Linked DNA regions of Homo sapiens: all the other regions are linked to region 2. Evidence: promoter capture Hi-C in 16 types of primary human blood cells and fetal thymus (Javierre and others, 2016). All regions are on one chromosome and are shown on one strand. The core of a region is centred on a gene start or on the middle of the fragment in contact, and the rest is flanking DNA. Distances in the headings are between cores, read along the strand shown. Region 1 overlaps PSTPIP1 (proline-serine-threonine phosphatase interacting protein 1). Region 2 holds the start of PEAK1 (pseudopodium enriched atypical kinase 1). Region 3 overlaps PEAK1 (pseudopodium enriched atypical kinase 1).

Region 1 (4,612 bases), core at 860-3,359, 420 kb before region 2:
TGAACTTTCCCCTTGACATGTGGGTGTATCTCTCCTTTGAGGCTGGGCTCTGGCTCTATCTAGAAACCCCTGTGCCACACTGGGAGGAGCTGAGCCTCCCCAAGCCCATTTAACAGGTGACAGCACCGCTGCCGAGTGGGGCAGTGACTCACCAGCTTCACACAGTGGGACCAGCTGGGCTGGTCTGCCCCTTCCCTATGTGGCACTCAGCCACTGGTGCCTTTTCCCTTCCCAGTTCTGAGATGCTGAGGTGCCCATTTATGAGGCTACAGAGAAGGGGACTGAGGGGCCCTACTCTGATCTGTCATAAAGCTGCCTGTCCCTACCCCCAGACCTGTCTACCATGGCCCAGGGGCATCAGGAGAGCCTGACATTTGCTGGGCACCTGTTCCATCCTGGGCATTTAAAGAGAGATATATATATATATATACACACACACACACACACACACACACATACACACACACACTTTCTAAAGAAACAAAATCAACTAATATAAGATCCTAAAAGGAAAGTGGGGAAATGGAGAAAAATAGGAAAAGAAGAAGCACCTTTAGTCTCATCACACAACTGCTAATATTATGCTGTGTTTGCATAAGATTGCCTTACATAGGTGCAAGCATATTGTGTACATAATTTTGTATTTTCCCTTTCTTTTACAAATTTTTTATTTTTGCAGAGATGAGGTCTCCCTGTGTTGCCCAGGCTGGTCTCAAACTCTTGGGCTCAAGCAATCCTCCTGCCTTGGCTTCCAGAGTGCTGGGATTACAGGCGTGAGCCACCATGCACGGCCCTCCCTCCTTTTTTTTTCTAGTATTTTAAATTTTATTTTAAATTGTAGCGAAATACACATAAAATGTACCATCTTAACCATTTTTGTGGTGTATGGTTCAGTAGCGCTAGGTTTGTTCACACTTTGCCACCCTCCCCTTTTTTTAGCGTAACTCACTCCATCGGGAACACCTGTGGGTGTGGACATGGGTTCCTCATTTTCAGCAACACCACTGTTCATGGCTGCACAGTTCTCTAGCTTGTGAATTTGGTGACCATGCTGTGATTTTTTTTGCCCAGTCCTCCACTGCTGAACATTTAGGTTACTGCCAATTATTTATTATTCTGGACAGTGACACCATGGGTAGATCTTTGACTATAAAGGTTTTTCACTTGGGGATTATTTCTTTGGGCAGAGGAGGCTAATGGCTATTTTCCAGGGAAGGAGGCATTTCTGGGTGAAAGAGTGGGGCCAGTTCTCCAGCCATGGGTACTAGCAGTCACTTTGGGATCCCCCATAGTCCTCTGGTTGGGCAGGAGCTTTTTCACACAGGAAGGAGGGACCCCAGAATGGCCTGGAAGGGTCAGGGCCTGTGGATGGGGCCCTGCTGGAAACCAGAGCCTGCACTGACTTTGTGGAAGGCCTTGCAGCCCAGCAAACTGCTGTGGCTTTGAGGGCCAAGGAGGCCAGTGGCTGAGGAGTGGCCCTGGTGCACTCAGAGCTTGCAGACAGTGCAGGAGGTGGGAGAGAGAGGCCCTGGCCATCCTGCCTTTGCTGCCACCAAGTACCTTCCCGGCACCTGCCTGGCTGCATCTGTCAGAAGCAGTGAGGACGGAGGCTCTCCCTTTCCTGATTGGGAAAGCTCTTTAAGACCTGGTGTTCCCTGTAAAAAGCAGAGAGCCTGGCAGTGCACCTGGTCGGCAACCCGTTGTGAAAAGTGGGGAAATAAGCATTTATACTGGCGCAGGCTTGTAGTATTAACAACAAAAATCTGTGGACGGATGCACAGGGAGCTAATTAAAGTGGTTGCCTGTTGGGAGAATGAGAGAAAGGAGATGGATGAGGGATGAGGCTGAGCGGCTGTGAACGTTTTCAGGATTGATGTTTTTATACTGTTTGATTTTTGAACCATATGAATGTATTAATTATTCAAAAATTAAATCAAACAATTAAAAATGAAAAAGAGGACATTTATTTCAAGTCCCATGAAGAATTTTTCCCTGAATCCCAGCTACTTACATCATCCCCTGAGGAGCAGCAATGCTGCCATTTGCTGAGTGCCTGTTCCATGCCAGGCATGCTGCCATTCAGTCCACATGCCCCCAAACGCATTGTCAGTGTCTTCCTGACTCTGTGATGGGACCTAAGGCACGGCAGGTCTAGGCCCAGACGAGGGTCACCTGTGCAGGGTAGAGCAGGGACTCCCACCTAGGTCTGTCGAACTCTATTGCCCTCTGCCCTGAATTCTAGAGAGTTTGTTCTTGCTTCTACTTTAATTTGTGTAGGATGAAAGGATGCTTCCCTACATGTTAACACTGGTGTCTATGGATTTGGAAGTAGGATTCTCTCCATCCCCCATCTAATTTTCTGCAAGTCAATACAGAGTACCTTTGTCATTAAAAAGAAAATATTTAAAAAGAAAACTAAGCAATTCCTGCTTTCAAGAATGAGTTGGTGTTTCTAGGCCAAATTTGTGGTTTGCTAGCATGCCCTTTTCCACATGCTCGGTGCATATTTTGTGGTACGTGGGCCTCTGGGGACCAAGAACTTCGTTCATCTGTGCCCATTCCACAGGACGTGGCCGGCTGCTCAGGTGTTAGAAGATTGCAGAGGTTTGTGGTCATGCTTGCTTTGCTTTTGCGATGCCTGCAGATGGTCACTGCCAGGATTTGCTGGCTGCAGGGTTCTGGGTCGATTTGGTGTTCTGAATTCAATTTTATTCTTGATAAAAAACAAGATCTGCTTCTTGATGACCCACTTTGTGCTCCAGTCCCCTGGAACCCACATGCTTTTCCTGGCTGCTCCTGACATCTACACAGAACTAGGGCAGCCCCTGGGATGGAGAAGGAGGGCCTTGCTTTGGGCTTTGAAGGGTGGGTGAGGATTTGAGACATGTCAGGAGGACAAACGGCACTCAAGGTGGGAGGTACGGCATGGGCAAAGGTGTGGAAGGGGGTTTGGAAGACAGTTTTCTGGCCCAGAGCATTGTGCAAGGTGACTGGTAGGAAGGGAAGGCACGAGCTGGATTGTGAAAGGTCTCTGCCCTAAGTGGTGGCAGAGATACTTTCTTCTGCCTCTCTGCACCCTCTCTGGTGGTGGCTGTTTCCTCTCATGCAAAAGAGGACAGAGGCTGCGGGCTGTGAGTGGGATGCCCTTCCTCCTCACCCAGAGCCTGGCTGACGCTGCAAACCACATGATGGAGGGAACTTTGGGTGGAAACCAAGACTGCCTCTGCTTCCAGCTAGAGAGCATGATGCCCTGGGCCCTGGGCTGCCCACACCAGGACTCTCCTCTGGGTTGGCTCTGGAAGGTTCCTCCCTCACAGACTCAGTCATGCTCCATCCTCCAGGCTTAGAAGGAAATCGGCTTCTTGGGAGGCCGAGGCGGGTGGATCATCTGAGGTCAGGGGTTCGAGACCAGCCTGGCCACCATGGTGAAACCCTGTCTCTACTAAAACTACAAAAAAATTAGCGGGGCATGGTGGCGCATGCCTGTAATCCCAGCTACTCAGGAGGCTGAGGCAGGAGAATCGCTTGAACCCAGGAGGTGGAGGTTGCAGTGAGCTGAGGTTTCACAATTGCACTCCAGCCTGGGCAAAAGAACGAAACTCCGTCTCAAAAAAAAAAAAAGAAGAAGAAGGAAGCGGGCTTCTTTGAAGCCTCACCCAACCCTCACCCACACTTGCTAGGTGGCCTTGGAGAATCATTTTCCCTTTCTGAACCTCAGTTTCCTCATCTGCAGGATGTCAGGGTCGTCATCACTTAAGATAAGGGCTTTGAGGTTGGGGCGGCTCAGGGCAGTGCTAAGGGACCACCTCCTGCTCACCACAGTGGAGTAGCAGACCAGGAACAGTTCCCAGGGGACCCAGATTTATAATTGGATATGCACCCATAGGGTGAGCCTTATACATAGATCTTGCTGTTTCAGAATGCCTCCTCCAATCATGTTCACCATTGCATGTTATACTCCACCATTAGAGAATCATTCCTTTGGTTTCAAGTAACAAGATGATCTATGTTATCTCACTTAATTCCAACAATAGTCCTGTGAGGTCAGTATTCTTATTCCTGTTTTACAGAGAGGAAACTGAGCCTCTTGGAAGGAATGTGGGCCTGGGGGATGCCACACAGATGGATCGGACTGGGCTGGGCCTGGATGCCACCTTCCCAGGTCTGGGTCAGAGAGCCCTTTGCAGTTAATGGGAGGGTGTGTTGGTTTGCTGAGGCCTGGCACACTGAGCAATGGGTGATGGAACAGGCAGGAGAGCGACAGCTCCTTCCACTGGTGTTGACAGGCCACCCACCATTGGGCAACAGGAAGTGCCAGCTGGAGCCCTGGAGACCAGCAGCCAGTGTGGGGATGTGGTGGCCAGATGGAACTCAGGGCTTCCCAGCTGTGGAAACAGGAACGGGAAACAGCCACACTGGGGAGGAAGTCAGGGGGTGATGGGCTGAGGCAAGAGCATGCCTGCGTGGCTAGAGAGAGTGACCAAGGTGGAGAGTAGTTGGAGATAAGGTAAGAAATAGAACAGTGGCCAGGCGTGGTGGCTCACACCTGTAATCCCAGCACTTTGGGAGGCTGAGGTGGGAAGATCACTTGAACCCAGGAGTTCAAGACCAG
Region 2 (4,484 bases), core at 1,750-4,249:
CGAAGTCTGAGTCAGCTACCCCTCCTCTGTGCTTCCATCCATAGGAATGTGTGCATGCCCCTGTCATACTATAATTATTGGTTATCACCTATCTTCTCCTCCTCAACTGTAAACTCCTTGCAAAAAGGAATCTCATATTCTATAATACTCAGGTCCTACCTACCACCATGCCTGGCACTTAAAAGGTACTCAAACATTTGTCAAACAAATGTAAACTATCTATTCCTGGCCTGAAGGTTACTAGGATTTCTACTTCACTAAGGAAAACAAACCAGCCTTGAGGGAACCTAGAAAGTACCAGGAGCTTTAGTAATGAAAGGACTAGGAAGGAGAGTGGGGTGGGGGGATGCGGGGCGGGGGGGGAGGGGGGCAAGAGGTAGGAATCACAGTAAAGAGATCAGCAAATGACAGAATAACGCTCATCACACACATCTGCCTCTTACACTGAAAACAGGGATTTGCAACACTGATATGGAGCCTTGTACTCACACTTGGCATGCCAGGGGCCACAGTTTGGTTACTAAATTACTTAAACAACCCATCCAACAAAAGGGTATGATTTGGCAGGTATCAACACAAATGGCTAGGGCCCAGCACCCGTTCCACTTAAACAGCACATCAGTACAGTTAAAAAGAACAACAAATCTCTCTCATGAAGCAAATGCTAATCTCATGATGCTTCACCACGGAACAATTTAGAAGAGTTATTATATGAAATGTGCCAAAGCATGAATTTATAGCTGATGCTTATTTGGCAAATATGGTTGGCACTGCTAGATGTTGAAAAACATGTATGCAAATAAGCAAATAAAAGTTTTTAAGCTCTCAGACTTAAATATTTACATTACCATAAATGTACAAAGATAAATGTTTATATGAGTACACGTATAATGCATTCCAGGAACATATTTTTTAATGTGATTGTCGGCAAACAGTTATGAAGTGGCATTATTTCTTCATGGGCCTTCAGGGTAGACTCTTAAAAATGAATTTTGAATGTTAATAGGCTACAAACATTATTGTGAAAGTTTCTGTATACTATCAACTGGATAAAACGAATAGTTGAGGTATCATAATAGTTCAAAGTGATCTTATCTTTTTCTTTCACCAAAACACTTCTCTTCCAACCCTAGAACACAGCCACACATAAATTTTAGCCTCTAAGTTGGGACAGGAGATGGGGGGTAGTGAGGGAAAAGAAGGAACATACATTAAAAAGCCTTAAAGAAAATAATTTGACATTTTTTCCCACATAATGTAGTCATGTTAGAGAATCCAAAATAAAGACATGATAAAATATTTCCCTTTCCCCCCCGACAGCAATGAAAAGGGGATGTTTGTTTTTTCACATAGTTTGTGAGTTGGTCATATCCAAAATTCACTAGCAATGCTATGACTTCTACTTCCATTGTTCATCTCTGGGCTGAGGCTATAACCCTCAACTTTGAAGCCAAGAAAATGTACCATATCTGCCATTACAGTTTACTAAATAAGTCACCAAAGAGAAGTCCCAGGCAAGTCAGAAAGTAATTAGGGTCGTCAGTGAATTGAGCTATCTAGAAATGCTCTGAGATTACGAGAGAAGCCATCATGAAGTGAGTATCCAAGATTGCTCATGGAAAGTTTTACCCCGGTGGATAATTCACGTTTTTCACTTCCACACTGCAGAGAGCAATATGGGTTCTCTGACTATACACATCACTACATCACTTCATTTATCGGGGGAAAAAAAAAGACGCTGTGGCTGAACAAAAATCAGTAAGTAGGCCCCAAAACAGAATCCTCAAGGCAATCCCAATTCAGGTGAAAAGCTGTTCACGTACATCATCCAATGACCTAAAAATAGTCTTTTATGTAAGTCTCTAAGTATTTAATTCAACGTATGATCTTACCACATTCAACAGAGGCAGAAAAAAAATCAATTAGGTTTTCTATAGCAAGGCCAATAAAGATGAAATCATAGTTTTCCTCTAACTCATCACTACCCCCTCAACGTCAGCCTTCCAATAACTCCATTCCACAGCTCTCAAATTCCTGAACTTGGATCTTTAAAAAACAACGAATCGCAAAAAGTAACATTTAACAGGCCAGAGGCAGGCGGGGGAGGAGGGTCTCTCCCGGTGCTCTCAGCAATCTTTAACGTAGCCAAAGGAGGAAAAAACGAAATCAAGCTCCCAGACGGATGGTGCATGCGACGAGAGGGGAGGGGGCAGACGCGGTTCAGACGGCAAGTCCCCATCGAAGGAGGAAAGAAAAGTTGCAAGAACGGATGGGTCAAAGGGCAGAAAAGAAAAAAACTGAGCAGCCGAACCACTCACAACCCCCAAACGACCCCGCCAGCCCACACGTTCGCGGGCTCCCCAGCCGCGGCGCGAAGGGAGCAGGCAGGGAGCCACCCGGCTCCGTCCCGACGCTGCCGGCGAGGCTGCGCCGATGCTCCCGGGTGCGGGAGCGGGCTGACCGTGTGGACCCGGCAGGAGCCAGAGAAGCCCCTCCTGCCCCGGCCTCCCCGCGTCCAGCTCCTCCAGGCTTCACTTTCCCCCGCAACCTCCCAGCCGCGCCCGGGGGCGTCCCTCGCGGCAGGTCCCAACTTTCCTTCCTCTGGGGGGCGTCGCGCTCCCGGGGCCGCCGCCGAGGGAGGGGGCAGGGGCGGCAGGGGGCGCGCGGCACCGGCGGGGCGCGGGGGTGGCCGGGGAGCTAGAGCCCGCGCCGGGCGGGACGCACCGGCCGCCAGAGCCCCGGCGGCGGCGCCACCCAGAACCCGCGCCGCCACCCAGAACCCGCGCCGCCCCGCCCGGATTCCCCCGGGTCAGCGCCCTCAACCCGCGGCAACCCTGGTCCCACAGACGGCGCGTGAGTAGAAGACAACCGAGCGGACGCGGACAGCCGGGCCGCTGTTACCTGAGGGGCGCACACGCCGCCGCGGCGACCACCATCACCGTCCGTCCCGTCCCCTTCCTGGTGACCACGGCCGCCGCCGCCGAGCAACTGACACTGACTAACAACAACTAACTAACTACTCGCCGCGGCCGAGTCCACCGCGCGCTCCCGGCCGCTCGCCGCCCGCCCAGCCCACCAGCCTGCCCGCCTCCTCTCGGCCCCGCGCGCCGCCCCTCCGCGCGCGCCCTCGCCCGCTCGCCGCGCTCCTGGAGCCGTGAGCACGCGCGCGCTCACGGGCCCCGGTCGTCTCCCAGGTCTCCCTCAGCCCCAGCGGGAGGAGTCACCGCCAGGCCCCTCCTCTCTGCCTTCCAACCTCCAGAGGACGAGACCTAAAGGGTGCCTGATTGGCTGCGGAGGGCGGGGCTAAGACAAGGGGCGGGGCTGCCGAGACCTTGGGCCCGCGTGAGGGAAAATTTGGGTTCGATTAAGCCGCAGAGGAAAAGACCAGGGGAGTCTGGGCCCATTTGGGCGTCGGGGCCCGCTAGGTCAGCCGTCATCGAATACAGAATATGTTTTCGAGGACGCTAATATGTAGTCATGACCAATTTCAGTTCTTCTACTTTCTGCGGGCCTTCGCAATAAAAAAAAAAAAACTACATCTCCCAGAAACCTCCACGAAAATAAGGCTCACCTTGCGTAACCACGTAGTCCTTCGCCGCATTGGGGCAAAATAATCCCTTCATTTTTGTGAAGGTACCGTGGAAAATATTTCATTTTTCTTCTCACCGGAGCAATTGTAAATGCTATGCGGTAAGAGGAGTTACCTGTGGAAAGGTGGTTAAGAGATTAGGTAAAGAAAAGGAAAGGACACCAAAATAAAGTGCTGCGGAAGAATTTTTGTCCAGCTGTGAGACGACGAGTGCGTGAAGTGAAGGCGATTGAGAGGGGCTGAGGGAATTGTCCTCTGTGGAAGGGACTTTCTTTTGGCCCTAGGCCCCTTCCTGCCCCTGTCGTCAGCAGGTCAGTAAGCAAGGCGAGCTTGGGGGTGGCCCCAGTCGAGATGCCCTTCACCCCTTGAAGATCACCCCTCTTTTGGTGGTGGTGGTACTGGTTTGTCTCAGTTGGAGGCCGGCTGAATGGGGGCGCCTCAACTTCCGGTTGGGGGAGGGGAGGAAGGCCGTCCTGGGGAGGGGGGACACCCTCACTTCCTGTGGGGGGGTGGTGATGGTTTGGGGGTGTCCGACCCACTTCCAGTGCTGATGAGGGCTTGAAAAGGTGGTGCTTGGTGCCATTCGCGGAGACATTATCTTGCAGCTTGGGGATTGTGTTTTATGTGAAAAGTTAGATTATTCCAAGTTGTGCTGAACACCAACCTGCAGTCAGAATTTATGAGTTTGCTTCCACGTGGAATATGGAGCATTTCCTCCCCAGCAAAATTGTCTGTGTTTTCTTCAAAGAATTCGAAAGCCCTTGTTAAAAATCTCTATGCACCTTTGCAAGACGACATAGCTTGTGTGACTGATGAATTGCCAACACCTGCACCCCTACTCAAGTCCAGCCTTGGCTGGGTGAAGTGTGGTGCCCTCTGCCTTGACATGCAACAG
Region 3 (4,888 bases), core at 988-3,487, 300 kb before region 2:
AAACTACAAAGTTGTACAAATGCAACACTGATAATGACTAAAGCAGTTAACAACTTGCAAATGTCAAACTAATGCAATCTTAGAGAATCCTAATTTTTTGAAACAATGAGCAAAACAGAAAAATAGATCTTTATTTTGAGTCCCGACAGCCACCTGCCACAGCAGTGAGGCTCTCTGATCACAAATTTGATAGAGGACAGACAAAAAGAAACTGCTAACATTCAATACCTCCAAGCCAGGGTCAGCCCTGACAAACAAGTTAACACCAGCAGTATGTTAGAATCCAAGACAGGGCAACCTAAAGCTATGAGAGAGAATTGTTTGGCCAAGTCTAGTTTTTAACTATGTCAAGTCAGGCTGAAAAAAAAAACTGTGACCTTGTAGTTTAATATTAGAAGCAGAGAAGGTATTCTAATTGTGACTCGTATTTTAATTGTGATATTCTAATTATATCTAGACATTCACACAGACACACACATTTTTATAAGGTCCTCCAGAGCTTTGTGAGTAGACAAGAATGTGGATACTACAATAAGAATTTATGTTTAGCTTCACAGATCTACTTGAGATAAAGGATCAAAGTGATTTACGAAGAAGAAATGATAAATTGTTTCACGATTTTGGATGCTCTAAAGGAAAATGGTCTCCCTAGATAGATAACCTGAGTGGGCAGCACTTCCTTATCTCTTCATTTTATAATACATAGACAGGTTGAAGAATAATGAGTCACTCTAGCTTTAAGAGCAAAGGCAAAAGGGAGAAGACTAGAGTGTAAAAGAGGAGGGAAAAAGAGTGATTTTACTTGGTTCATAACCCTGAAAACAGTTACAACCCAAACACAGACCAATGGAGATTTCCATAATAGGATTTTGCTTGATGGGTATCTCATAAATCTTTATTATGGAGCCTGCAATGATGTTAATTTAGGTAGGAGTATTATATTATTCTAGGTACCACATTGTAGCCATTTTTCAAATATTAATAACTCCTTTAGTTAAAAAAAAAACCTCAAAATGACCTGACTTCAGATAACAAATTTCTAGTTCAAAAGTTATTTCAGAAAACAAACCAATTTTTCAGAACAAATGGATAGGGTTCTTCCTGTCAAATTTTTTCCTTCTGCCCTTACCCAGTATTTTCTCTACCAGGGATTAAAGTAACTTCTTCTTGGCTCTCATTATCTTTCTTGAAAAGAATTCACATTCCTTCTTTATAAAGAGTAGCTGGCATCTCAAGAGTAGCAGGAGGAATCTCAAGAAAGATTCTACTTGTTCATGCCAGCTACTCTTTAATCTATAAATGATTACTTCAGGACTCCTCCTAGGACCCCCAAAATTTAAAAATAGGAATAAAAATAAACTAGAACTGGAATGGTCCTACATCTTCATTAAACATTCCCTTTTCTAATAGGGGAAAAATCACCTCATATTTGCCTTGGCTATGTTTGGGAAAATCTACTTAAAATGCTGTGAATTTGGCAGATTCTGTGCTGTCTATATTTTCTGAAAGGCAAGAAAAAATGCTATGAGAGCCTGAGCCACAGTGACACTAGAGGGAGCTGCAATATCAATATCCAGGAGTCATTTACTTATAAACTGTGCAGCAGGAGAACAAAACCAGGCTGCTGAAGGTTGAATCTTCTTGTAAAATACACCATAGGGCCTCTTTCTGGATAAGCTTTTGCTTCTATGATGCTGGCAATACCAAATGCATGCCAAGGGAACTCCTCGTGTGAAGAGCACAGACAGGAAGAGAAGCCCATCCTGGGCACAGTGACCCTCGCCCACTTGCCAGCTCACAGGAAATGCCCGCTTGAGCTATTCTCCAAAGGAGTCAGAGGAACATCAAAAGGGACAGCCAGTCAGCTGGTATATACATATGCACCAACATGAATAACCTACAGTTGCAAAAACAGAGGCTTGAAGGGAAACTGGCTGCTTGTCTGGGTTAATAAAGATCAGTGAGGACAGAGAAGGGAAAAATATTAATTCATTATCAATTGATCATTCAAACAAGTATCTCATGGCTCCTGAGCACTTCCCATCTGTAAGACACAGCATCCTGAAGCATTCTGACCAGATTCCTAAATACAGAGGGTGGGGACCCTTTAACCACTGATAAATCATCTGTTGGAAAACTGGGGGAGAGGGGAAACAACATATTGTCTTCCAGAATCATAGCCAAATTACCCTCTCCTGAGACCTTCTCAGACTCGGGTCAAAGAACCCAACATTTACAATCTTAGCAGGGAAACAGAGCTTGAAAATGATTCATCATGCACAACCTGAAAAGTTTAATTCCAAACATACATTTCAGTTCAGGGGCTCATTTTCCATGTTGCTCATGACAACTGCCCTGCATACCTTTAAGGCAAATTTGTCATTAAAAAGCATTTATGTTTGTAATAACTTCAACCTAGAGAGCTAACTTCTAAAAAGTAGACCATCAGGGGCTTTGACTGTAAAGTCCCATTAAAAATAGCTGGGGAGAAGATAGTGCTGTCTAACACTACTGAACCTTTCAGAATGATCACAAAGCCTGGGACCTGTGAGAGGACATACCTCTTGATGCTCTCTCAACAACAGATACTCTGTTTAAGGCAACTAAGTCAGAGGGATAGGGGGAAAGGTGGACCTGTGCAAAACTGGATGATATGACTATGGAATTAATCTGTCGTTGAATGGCATGGTGTTACTCATTCTTCTTCATTGACCCTTTTTCCCAAAGGTTCCGTGAAGTGCTGGTGTTTGGAGTGCCTGCTCTCCATCCTAGTTTTTCATTGACAAACTCTCTTCCGCAAGCTTGCTCATAGCTTCAACCATGTCATATACACTACTGACTTCCGTGTCTACATTTGTAACGCACCCTTGTCTTTGGGCTTTAGGCTCATCTATACAATGACCTACTTGATTTCTTCCCATATATGTCCTAACCCATAGATTACTTAAACTCAACATAACCAAACCTGAACTCTCCGTCCCACCAAACTCACTGCTTTCCCAGTACTCCCTCTCTTGATGAATGGCTTTGTTACCTGGATGAGAAACCAAATTCACTTTGGATTTCTCCTGCATCTTCACTCCCTATGGCTAATTAATTATCAACTCTCATTGACTTTTCTTCTAAATAACTTTCAAATTATCCTCTTTTCTCCATCTCTATTGCTACCTTCATCACTTGCCTGGACAACCACAAAAGCTTTCCAACTGGTCTGCCTGCCTCTAATGTGATCCCCTCGAATACATCTTCCACATGGCTACAGAGCCATTAAAAAACAACAGCTGGTATTTCCTCCTTATTTAAATTTCCTAGCGGCTCCGCTTTATCCTCATAGGAGAAAGTCCTGGCCTTGCCTCCCTTTCCAGTCCTACTTCCCACCTGTGTTCCATTTGCTCTTACTATATTGAGCTATCTGCAGCCGGCCACCCACTCTACCCTCCAGGTGTTCTCTCAGTTTGGGGCTCCTTGTCACCCCTCATCTGCCTGAGGGATTCCTACTTCTTTTAAAGCCCTTCTCAGGCATTACTTTATCAGAGAGAGGAAGTGCTAAATACCCTAAACCCCCTTTCTGTGTTACTTCTATATCTTGTACATATCTCTATTATTGCAGTTATCACATTTTTTATCTTTAAAAAATTTTTGTTTTTTATAATTTTTTTCAATTTTATTTTAGATTCAGGGGGTACATGTGCAGGTTTGCTACCTGGGTATATCTCATGATGCTGAGGTTTGAGGTACAACTGATCCCATCACCCAGGTACTGAACACAGTACCCAACAGTTTTGCAACCCTTGTCCCCTTTCCTCCCTCCTCTGACATTTTTTTGTCTATCTTACAAGCAGATACTTGTATCTTTAGGGCCTAGCACAGAGCAAGGCACGTAGTACTTGCTCCATATGTCTGTAAAAGATTCTGAGAAAAGGCAGCATCTGATCCAGTGCTGCCATAGGGCTTATTTACTCGGAACAGGTAGAATATATGAACAGCTTTTATGAAACAGATAAAAGTTGGCAAGGTGATGGGGTGGGGGCAACGGCAGATAAACCTGAATAATAAACACTCATGAATGACCTGACTACACAAATGAGTGAAATCTGATCAGTGAGGGCTGTCTGTTGAGTCCAGGCTGCCCTGGGGGCTTGCTGATTTTGTACTGCACAAAACTACAAAACAACATGGCTCTCTGTCATTCGATTCAATTTTCTCTCCTTTGCCCCAAAGAAAGCAATAATTACAAAATATAAGACTCTTCAAAAATATTCTACATTAGCTCTGATTTTTCCATTATGGGCCCAGTATGCCTTCAGCCTACTTCCAGTTTATCAGCAGGGAATCTCATTTCCATCTCACTCTATGCATTCTATAGTGCCTCAGTGAACCTTAAGTGAGATGGATGCTATAGGGAATGAATTGTGGAGGGACAAAAATGAGAAACATTAACAATCATACACATTACACCATCTGTGCCATTTTGTCATATCACACAAAAGTACAACTGCAAATGGGAGTGAGCATAGAATGAAACCCTGCAACTTCTAAATTGATATCCAGTATTTGGTATAATCCCACTCTAAGAATACAGGCTGATCAGTGATTGACCTCAATTCCTTGATCTGCCTAGGAGGAGTATTGCTATACTTGCTGCTACAGAGCTAAGACCCACACACACTCAATGCTGTTACAACTATATTCAAAATAGATTAAGTGTTTAATATATAAAACGCTGTGTGGGCCCAAAGTACTCAGGACTCCATGTTGTAGGAATCTGCTATGAGAACTGTTGGGTAGGCCAGATAATTTACAGCTTGAATTGCTGCAAAAATGTTCACATGCCCAAGAAAGTGATTTTGGATCCTAGAAGAGAAATTCAAGAAGGTAACTGTGTAAG

What was found. Contacts are between HindIII fragments. The CHiCAGO score rates a contact against its expected background, and 5 or more counts as called.
Region 1: a fragment that was not itself captured here is called in contact with the fragment with the promoter of PEAK1 in region 2 in 5 of 17 cell types (neutrophils, naive CD8 T cells, naive CD4 T cells and 2 more); the score reaches 9.6 in neutrophils.
Region 3: a contact is called between a fragment that was not itself captured here and the fragment with the promoter of PEAK1 in region 2, in 2 of 17 cell types (M0 macrophages and total B cells). The highest score is 5.7, in M0 macrophages.

The regions. Positions count from the first base shown.
Region 1 is chr15:77,000,048-77,004,659 of GRCh38, forward strand. The region is part of intron 1 of PSTPIP1 (proline-serine-threonine phosphatase interacting protein 1); the gene reads left to right. Among named protein-coding and RNA genes, the nearest start is that of PSTPIP1, 7.2 kb to the left of the region's middle. The HindIII fragment of the contact is 8,762 bases long and covers 1-4,612 here.
Region 2 is chr15:77,417,105-77,421,588 of GRCh38, forward strand. It overlaps PEAK1 (pseudopodium enriched atypical kinase 1), which reads right to left and starts at 3,000. Exons shown (of 10, transcript NM_001385026.1): 1 at 2,902-3,000. It overlaps HMG20A (high mobility group 20A), which reads left to right and starts at 3,784. Exons shown (of 10, transcript NM_001304504.2): 1 at 3,784-3,900. RefSeq lists silencers at 2,386-2,595, 2,606-2,775, 3,026-3,345 and enhancers at 3,796-3,845, 4,236-4,285. The HindIII fragment of the contact is 8,449 bases long and covers 1-4,484 here.
Region 3 is chr15:77,117,427-77,122,314 of GRCh38, forward strand. The region is part of intron 9 of PEAK1 (pseudopodium enriched atypical kinase 1); the gene reads right to left. Among named protein-coding and RNA genes, the nearest start is that of TSPAN3, 49 kb to the left of the region's middle. The HindIII fragment of the contact is 1,124 bases long and covers 1,676-2,799 here.